3 separate regions of the Homo sapiens genome follow, and all the other regions are linked to region 2. Evidence: promoter capture Hi-C in 16 types of primary human blood cells and fetal thymus (Javierre and others, 2016). All regions are on one chromosome and are shown on one strand. The core of a region is centred on a gene start or on the middle of the fragment in contact, and the rest is flanking DNA. Distances in the headings are between cores, read along the strand shown. Region 1 has its middle 3.3 kb from the start of KRAS. Region 2 holds the start of STK38L (serine/threonine kinase 38 like). Region 3 overlaps BHLHE41 (basic helix-loop-helix family member e41).

The links. Contacts are between HindIII fragments. The CHiCAGO score rates a contact against its expected background, and 5 or more counts as called.
Region 1: a contact is called between a fragment that was not itself captured here and the fragment with the promoter of STK38L in region 2, in 1 of 17 cell types (naive CD8 T cells). The highest score is 5.4, in naive CD8 T cells.
Region 3: a contact is called between a fragment that was not itself captured here and the fragment with the promoter of STK38L in region 2, in 2 of 17 cell types (activated CD4 T cells and fetal thymus). The highest score is 7.7, in activated CD4 T cells.

Annotation. Positions count from the first base shown.
Region 1 is chr12:25,252,843-25,255,575 of GRCh38, reverse strand. No RefSeq gene overlaps it. Among named protein-coding and RNA genes, the nearest start is that of KRAS, 3.3 kb to the right of the region's middle. The HindIII fragment of the contact is 1,695 bases long and covers 508-2,202 here.
Region 2 is chr12:27,242,913-27,245,612 of GRCh38, reverse strand. It overlaps STK38L (serine/threonine kinase 38 like), which reads right to left and starts at 1,327. Exons shown (of 14, transcript NM_015000.4): 1 at 1,281-1,327. RefSeq lists a silencer at 1,259-1,498 and an enhancer at 2,557-2,616. The HindIII fragment of the contact is 3,512 bases long and covers 1-2,521 here.
Region 3 is chr12:26,118,610-26,121,309 of GRCh38, reverse strand. It overlaps BHLHE41 (basic helix-loop-helix family member e41), which reads left to right. Exons shown (of 5, transcript NM_030762.3): 5 at 1-1,280. Among named protein-coding and RNA genes, the nearest start is that of BHLHE41, 5.1 kb to the left of the region's middle. The HindIII fragment of the contact is 1,105 bases long and covers 847-1,951 here.

The DNA.
Region 1 (2,733 bases), core at 106-2,605, 2.0 Mb after region 2:
TAGCTTGTAACTCTTTCCACTGTTCAAATATATACCCAGTATGCATGTAGCCTATATGGAGCAGGCACAGAGTAAATGTTTGATGATGATAAAAGACATGCGGAAGAAAGGTTAATTTGGCAACATCATAAAACTGAATTGAGACAAAGAAAGCCAGGAGGTAGGAAAGTCAATGAAGAAGTTATTCCAGAAATGTAGCTGAGAAGGAAGGAATACAGAAGAGGCAGATATGGGAAAATACTCAGGAAGTATAATTAAAAGGAGCTGTGACTAATTTTAATAAGGACTGGGTTAAAAATTAAGTTTTCATGTCTAAATGTTCTGGAGGACCATGATGTCACTCAGGTAAGATGGAGGAATTGAGAGAGGGAATTCGTTAGAGGGAATAACATGGGGAATTTGGCTTTGGACAGGCATTTGCCATGATAACAGAATATTCATTTAGAAATGGTCCAGGAAATTGGTTTGATGAGAATGAAGTGCCTGTGAAGAGAGAGGACTGAAGCTTGTTATAATTTCATTCACTTCAGGAATATTTACAGAGGACCCAAATGTGCTAAGAACTATGAAAACATAGAATTAAAAGAAATGGGCCTGGAATAATTTACAACCTAGTAAAGCAGTTATGGGAAAACATATTTGCAAAAAAGGTATACAAAGTATAATGAAATAAGTGTCCAGTAAGGATAAAGTGCAGAGTAAGTGAATTAAGCAGCACCCATTCATGTGTTCAAATTCCTGCCAGAGTCAAAAGGTTGTGCTGAAGTAGAGTCCATGAAAGCATCGTAGATGGCTCCTCCTGCTCAAGTTCCCCTGCTCTGCGTCCTGCTACTCTGGCCACAACCGTCTGGACCCAGGGTTGACACACAAACAAACACAATAATCTTTTAGCCAGACATAAAGAAGGCCAGCCACCAATCAGGAAAATTGTGTCCCATAAAGGCCCTTCCTATTGAACAGTGAATGACAGACATGGCCAGATCTTCTCTCTTGGAATGCTTTGAATGTTAGTCACAGAGAGTGACCACTAGAAGCACAGATAGCAGTAGAAGCTAAGACTACATGAAAAAGCAGTGGACAGATGGTGATTTATGAGAATGGCAAAATTACTAGAGTCATAGGCAATGGATACTTGTTAATGAAGGGATGAGCAGGGCCCCACAGCCTGTTGCTGGCTCACAAGTGCAGTTGATTGCTGGACTGAACAGCAGCTCTCCGCCTGATGATAGGGTTTTTTAAAGTGTCCTTATTGCCTTAAAGTAAATCCTCAGCATTTGCAGTGCTCTGAGGGTGTCCTAGCATTTTATACCTTTTTTCTAAGAGCCCAGGTAACATAAGGGTACTCCTGTTGTTCTGGCTTTAATTCTATCTGCAGAAGAGGGTTTCTTGTGAAAGAAAGGGTCAGTATGGTCTTTTATCTGTACAGCAGATAAAAAGGGTATGTACGTGCACACCTTTGTACGTGGCTGCCTTCCCAGGACAGTCTGACAGTAGAGGGTAGAAACTTCAGTTGTAGCTGAGAGCAGGCCTGGAATCCCCATGCTTATACTTTTTATTTCCTCCCCCCTTTCCCATTGTGATCACAGGCTACTTCAGTGTGCTTGTCCTTGGAGAGAGCAAGGGAAGGGAGAGCCAGGGAGACTGTTCAAGGGAGCCACCAGGCTCGAGAAAGAGGAACCCCTGAAGACAGTAGAAAGTGCAGGTGCCAAGAATTTGAATATCTACATCAGAGTTTCTCAATGTGCACACAGTGAACTACCAGTTTAGGATCATTTGATTTGCTAAAAATGAAGATTACTGGTCTACCTTAGACCAACTGAATAAAATATCTGGGTGAGGGGCCTAGGAACTTGCATTTTTGGTAGGCATGGCAGGTGATTCCTAAAGCATTTACCCTTGAGACCTCTATGTTAAGGAAAGAAAGGTAATGTTGCAAGGAGGTGGTGCCGGCTTCTAAGAAAGTACCCAGGACTGAACGGCAGAAAGACCTGACATACCATATGTATAAATTGCTGTGGAAGTGAAAAGGAAAGAGAAAGTGTCTGAGGTAAAACTGGAGTGTGGGGTGCGTGGAACAAATGGTTGGATGCAGATTTGCTTTACGAATCATGAGCCTAGATGATAACTGAGACCATGTGGATGGATTAGGTTTCTGCTAATGCCAGAATTTTTATAATCAGCATAAAAGTGCTATATAAAGCTTTCCCCTCTTCTATATTATAGTCCTTTTAAGATGTATGGAACATCAACTATAGGAAGAACATCATATTCACAGCTGTAAGAGGAAACAAGAACTTATCATGCACTTGATGTTGTACAAAATAAATCTGTGATTTATGCTTGAGTGACCACAAAGTAGCATACACATAAGCGCAAATTCATTCATTTAAGAATTCCTTGTGTCTATTATGTACGAGATAAGTATCTCTGAGCTGCACGGAATGTGGCTTATCAGAAGGTGACCTAAGTTTCAAAGCAGATTTTGTTAAGATGAAGACAGAGATTGACAGGAGGTTTAAGACACTCTGTCTAAAGTAAAGATTTAGAGTCACAGAGTTCATGGATTAGGATTTAGAATCCACAGAGGGTCCACAGATTCACTCATTCAACATTCCATAAATATTTATTGAATGCCTTTTTGTGTCAGAGACTGTCTTAGGTGCTGGAAATTTAGCAGTAAATGAAACAGACCAAAACCCATGCCCTCATGGAGCTTACATTCTGATGGTAGAG
Region 2 (2,700 bases), core at 78-2,577:
TACATATCCTGAGGCACAGAGAGAAAGGCCAATCAAATTCAAAGAGGTTTACAGTACCTTATATACATATATGATTGAGACAAAGAACTTTCAAGAATCTGTACTGAGGAAGCAAAAATGGGCTTAAGTACAATAGGCCCTGCCTTAAAGTAGAGAGACCGGTCAAACGTAAGCCCCAGCGCCAAAAAAGACAAGGTCTCACTCATCAATCCCCATCTTACAATCAAGAGGCAGAACTTAAATCACTTAAAGCTGTTTTTTCAGATTTGAGCAGTAAAATAAGCTAATAGGCCATTTCCGATTAAGTGGCTTCTCTCAAAACTTATCACAAGTTATGTGAAATGGGTAAAAGTGTTGGTTCTGCATTTTATCAAGTGAGAAACAATAGCATCCTACTTTTGGACAAGCCACTACTTCCAGAGCCACTAGCCCTCCCCCCACCTCCCACTTCTTTTTATATCATTCCTCCAAACTTAGAACCCGAAAAGCTATTCCACAAAACAAAAGCAGCACCAGTAAAAGGGGAGGCCACTGGTTTTGAAAATAAAGTTTGTTCTTTTGCTGTCAACCTGGCAACTTTTTAAAGGTGAAACGTGCCCTACTCAATCGGTTATACTCTTTTCTACTCCCACACCAAATAACCACTCGTTCGACCTCGATACTAAAGGTGAAAAAAGGAGTGGGAGAAATGATTTTGAAAGGAAGGGGCTACGGGTGCAATGGTAAAGACAGATTCTAAGACTGGTTTTGAGCACTCCGTGGCTTCTAGGAGCTGGGAGGCTTTCCTGAGTCTGTCTTGAGAAATGTTTGGCAATCTGACGCATCAGTTTTTAGGAACGGTACACAAACAGCCCCCACAATTGAAGAGCCATGCTTCGGATCCTGGCTCTGGGTGACATCGGCTGGAGGGCACGGGACGGGAGCGCTGGGGCTACCCGGAGAGGATCCGCGACATTTGTTATTGTTTGTGAAGCCCAGGCGGGGACCCGGAGCGGAGTGCTCGGGGGCCGGGGAGTGGAAGGAGAAAGGAGCAGAGGACAAAGATTCCTCCCCGGGTGCGAGGCTCCCTCTCTGGACACATGGGGCCAGTATCACCCCGGGGAATAAGAGGGCCAAGGCCGTCGCCGCAGGTTCCCCGGAGACATTTCCAGCCCCAGAATTAGCCCGGCTTTCCCTGGACACCCAAAGACACCTAAAATCTCCTCCTGCTCCTGCTCGCAGAGTTGGGGCTGGCGCGGCGAGCTCGGGCCCTCAGCCGAGCGCTACATCCGCGAACTCACCTGCCTCCGGTCGCGCCCGCGGCCGGCTCAGCCTCCGCACGGACCGCAGCCGGCCGGGCGCCCGTCAGCTCCCTTCTCCCCGCTCCGCCCTCGCCCCGCCCCCGGGAGGTGGGACCCGCGGCCTCGCCGGAATCTCAGGGCGGCCTCCCTGAACTCTCGCGAGCCTTGCCTCCTCGGCTTCTCGGTGGCTGGGTCGGTCCGACTCGCCCTGACGTCATACGCACCACAGCCGGAAGTAGCCTTCTGTCGTCAACGCCCGTCTTCCCGGCCCCACCCATCTCCGCCTGGTGAAGGCCAGACTGGTTTTGAGGGAGTTGACTGAACTGTCGCCACTTCCCCTCTCACCAGCCTCACCTCACTGCCGTTTTTACGCCAAACCTGTTCAGGCCTCTCTTGAGAGTGGCCTAATGTGTTGCGACATTAGTCACATTCTAAATGTCATCCGAATTTTTCAAACAGTGCAATGCAAAGAATGTTAGAAATGGAAAGAGAGAATTCACGCATTTTTCAGATTGGGAAACAGTTGTCAACAAAGATGGATCAGCTAAGTTGCTCAGTCGGTAGCTGTGGGGACTCGAAGCCACCCAGGTTCCTTGACGCTTCCATTTCACCATGAGGGGACTCCAGAGACTGGAGAGGAACCAGGATTTGTAAATGCCACAAAAAATACATTAAAAACCTGTTTGAGTTTTCTTGGAAAATCTAAAATAACTACAGTACTGGCCTGCTTTATCAGTAGGATCTGAGAATTGTGCAGAAGAGCACTCCCCTATAGGATGACCCAAAAGGGACAACTTTGGGAAGGTTGATGCAATTTGCGTCTGGGGACAAAACTGGCCTTTGGGAAAGCCAAATGAGAGAATGACTCCCAATTATTGTTGGCAAGTTTATCCTCAATATGAGTATTGGAGGTCTTATAAAATATTCTTAGCTTTTAGCTTACTGAGACAACGTATGAAGCTGGTACTGTGCTTGCAAAAACTATCACTTAGAAATGCCACCTGTCATCTTTAGGTTTCCCAAGAGCAGGTGACACGAGCAAAACACCTAGGAAAGAAGCATTACCTCATTTCTCTTTCTTACACTGTGCTTTTTCATACATAGCTTAGTAGTGGGAAAAGCTCTAGTTTGGTAATTAGTGTATTTTTGGGGAGATCAGCTCCACTTATATGGTCATTTTGAAACTCAAATGACAGTTGTCATATACAAGCATAGGAGGTTTAATTGTGATCAGACAAGCTTGACAGGCCTATACACCCTTCTCCCTGTACTGCACGCATACACATACCATTCAAATGCTACGATAAGATTGAGAACAGTGTATGGTTTGTTCCACAGCAAATTTATGTCTTCAAATGTGCCATACTAGAGTAATATGAACTAGTATAGAGTAGCAGTCTAGGTTAATATGGGATAGCCT
Region 3 (2,700 bases), core at 150-2,649, 1.1 Mb after region 2:
TTCCTAGTACATTTGCTAACACTTTATTGAGAAATTGACCATGAATTAATGGACTCATCTTAATTTCTTCTAAGTCCATATATAGATAGATATCTATCTGTACAGATTTCTATTTATCCATAGATAGGTATCTATACATACACATCTCAAGTGCATCTATTCCCACTCTCATTAATCCATCATGTTCCTAAATTTTTGTAATCTTACTGTAAAAAAAAGTGCACTGAACTTCAAAACAAAACAAAAAACAACAACAACAAAAAACAAGTCCAAACTGATATATCCTATATTCTGTTAAAATTCAAAAGTGAACGAAAGCATTTAACTGGCCAGTTTTGATTGCAAATGCTGTAAAGATATAGAATGAAGTCCTGTGAGGCCTTCCTATCTCCAAGTCTATGTATTTTCTGGAGACCAAACCAGATACCAGATAATCACAAAGAAAGCTTTTTTAATAAGGCTTAAACCAAGACCTTGTCTAGATATTTTTAGTTTGTTGCCAAGGTAGCACTGTGAGAAATCTCACTTGGATGTTATGTAAGGGGTGAGACACAACAGTCTGACTATGAGTGAGGAAAATATCTGGGTCTTTTCGTCAGTTTGGTGCATTTGCTGCTGCTGTTGCTACTGTTTGCCTCAAACGCTGTGTTTAAACAACGTTAAACTCTTAGCCTACAAGGTGGCTCTTATGTACATAGTTGTTAATACATCCAATTAATGATGTCTGACATGCTATTTTTGTAGGGAGAAAATATGTGCTAATGATATTTTGAGTTAAAATATCTTTTGGGGAGGATTTGCTGAAAAGTTGCACTTTTGTTACAATGCTTATGCTTGGTACAAGCTTATGCTGTCTTAAATTATTTTAAAAAAATAAATACTGTCTGTGAGAAACCAGCTGGTTTAGAAAAGTTTAGTATGTGACGATAAACTAGAAATTACCTTTATATTCTAGTATTTTCAGCACTCCATAAATTCTATTACCTAAATATTGCCACACTATTTTGTGATTTAAAAATTCTTACTAAGGAATAAAAACTTTAATATACGATATGATATTGTCTAATAATTAAAAAAGACATAATGGATGCTCAATTAGTTTTAAGATATCTATAACTATAGGGATACAAATCACTACAGTTCTCAGATTTACAGCTTTTTTTTGTCATTGGCTTGATGTCACACATTTCCAATCTCTTGCAAGCCTCCAGGCTCTGGCTTTGTCTACCTGCTCGTTCCCAATGTATCTTAATGAAAAGTGCAAAAGAAAAACCTACCAATTAACTTGTGTGGTTTGTTTATGTTAGACCCAATTTTCTATTGTTTTAATGATTGACAAGTTTTTCAGTTTTCGTCTGTGACATCACATAGCCTCTCTAGTATGGTCAGGTGTTCCTCTTTCACTGGGTCTTGTATAAATAGATGATCACAAAGGGGTGCTTAATATGAGAGTGTTTTGGCTTCTTTTTATAAAATAATTCTGTCATGGGACTTTATCATGGAATTCCAGGATCAGAAATAATTTCTAGACTTTTCTCAAATTTCCATTCAAATCTGTGATATGATACAAACAGTGAAGGATTGTCAGCTTTTAGTTTCAGGAATGTTCTTCACAAACCCCTTGATTTTTGAAAATGTTTAAATGAGAGTCAGATTGTATAAGATGTAGAAAAAGTGCTCCCTCTGCTGACTTTATGGCAACTGAACTGCAAGTCATAACAGTATGAAGCCAGAAGGAGCCACAGCTCATCCAGTCCCCTGCATTTCGTGATAGGAAAAAAAGAAAGGAAGCCCAGAGATATTAAGTATCTTCCCAAGGTCACAGAGCTACCTAGAGTCAGCACTAGCACTAGTGGCCAGCTCTATTATATCCCTCAGTCACTCAACTACTTCCCATTGCAGTATCTTGGACCAAGTAAGCTGAACTTGATTGAGCAGCCCCCATGAAGCTTCGTAACAAACCATAGAACAAAGGAAATTGAAATCAACACTAGAAAACTATGTAGGATTTTTCAGCATTGTTAATTTATTGAACTTTAGAAAAATTATCTGAATCAGAATAATGGGAAAAACAGCATTTCAAATATTTTGAGCTATATTTTGATGCCACTACTGTAGTAATATTAGTTTCATAACCAAAAAGGATTAAAAGTGAATCAGAGGATAATACAGTGTTTTTAGCATGTGTATAATTTTGGTATAATGAGATAAAAAAATCTTCAGAGTTGGGCCAGATTTTACAAGTCAGTTATTTAGTCCAAGTGCCCATATGGTAACATGGTAAGATAAAGTTAGAACAGAAATGCAAAAATAATATTGTCTATATTGTATCTGAAAATCTGAAAAAACTTTATTTTAGTCATTGATTTATTTTAATGAATTAAAAGGCTGAAGTCATAATTCACTAAAGAGGCTTCTATACTTGTAGTGGTGAAATTTCAGCTAAAATGATTTTCCAACTTCAGGCAAATATGAATCTTGAGTCAATGTTTTTATGAGTATAGTATTATACTCATAAAAATTTAATTTTACATACATATATTTTACATAATCTTTAAAAAGATTAATTTTATATAACACATTTCTTAGCAAACTTTATATTGAATTGAAAAAAAATGGCCCTTCCCTCCCCTCCAAAGAGCTAACCTTAAGCACGTTTTCAAGGCACTAGAAACAACACTTTAATAGCTATGTAAAATT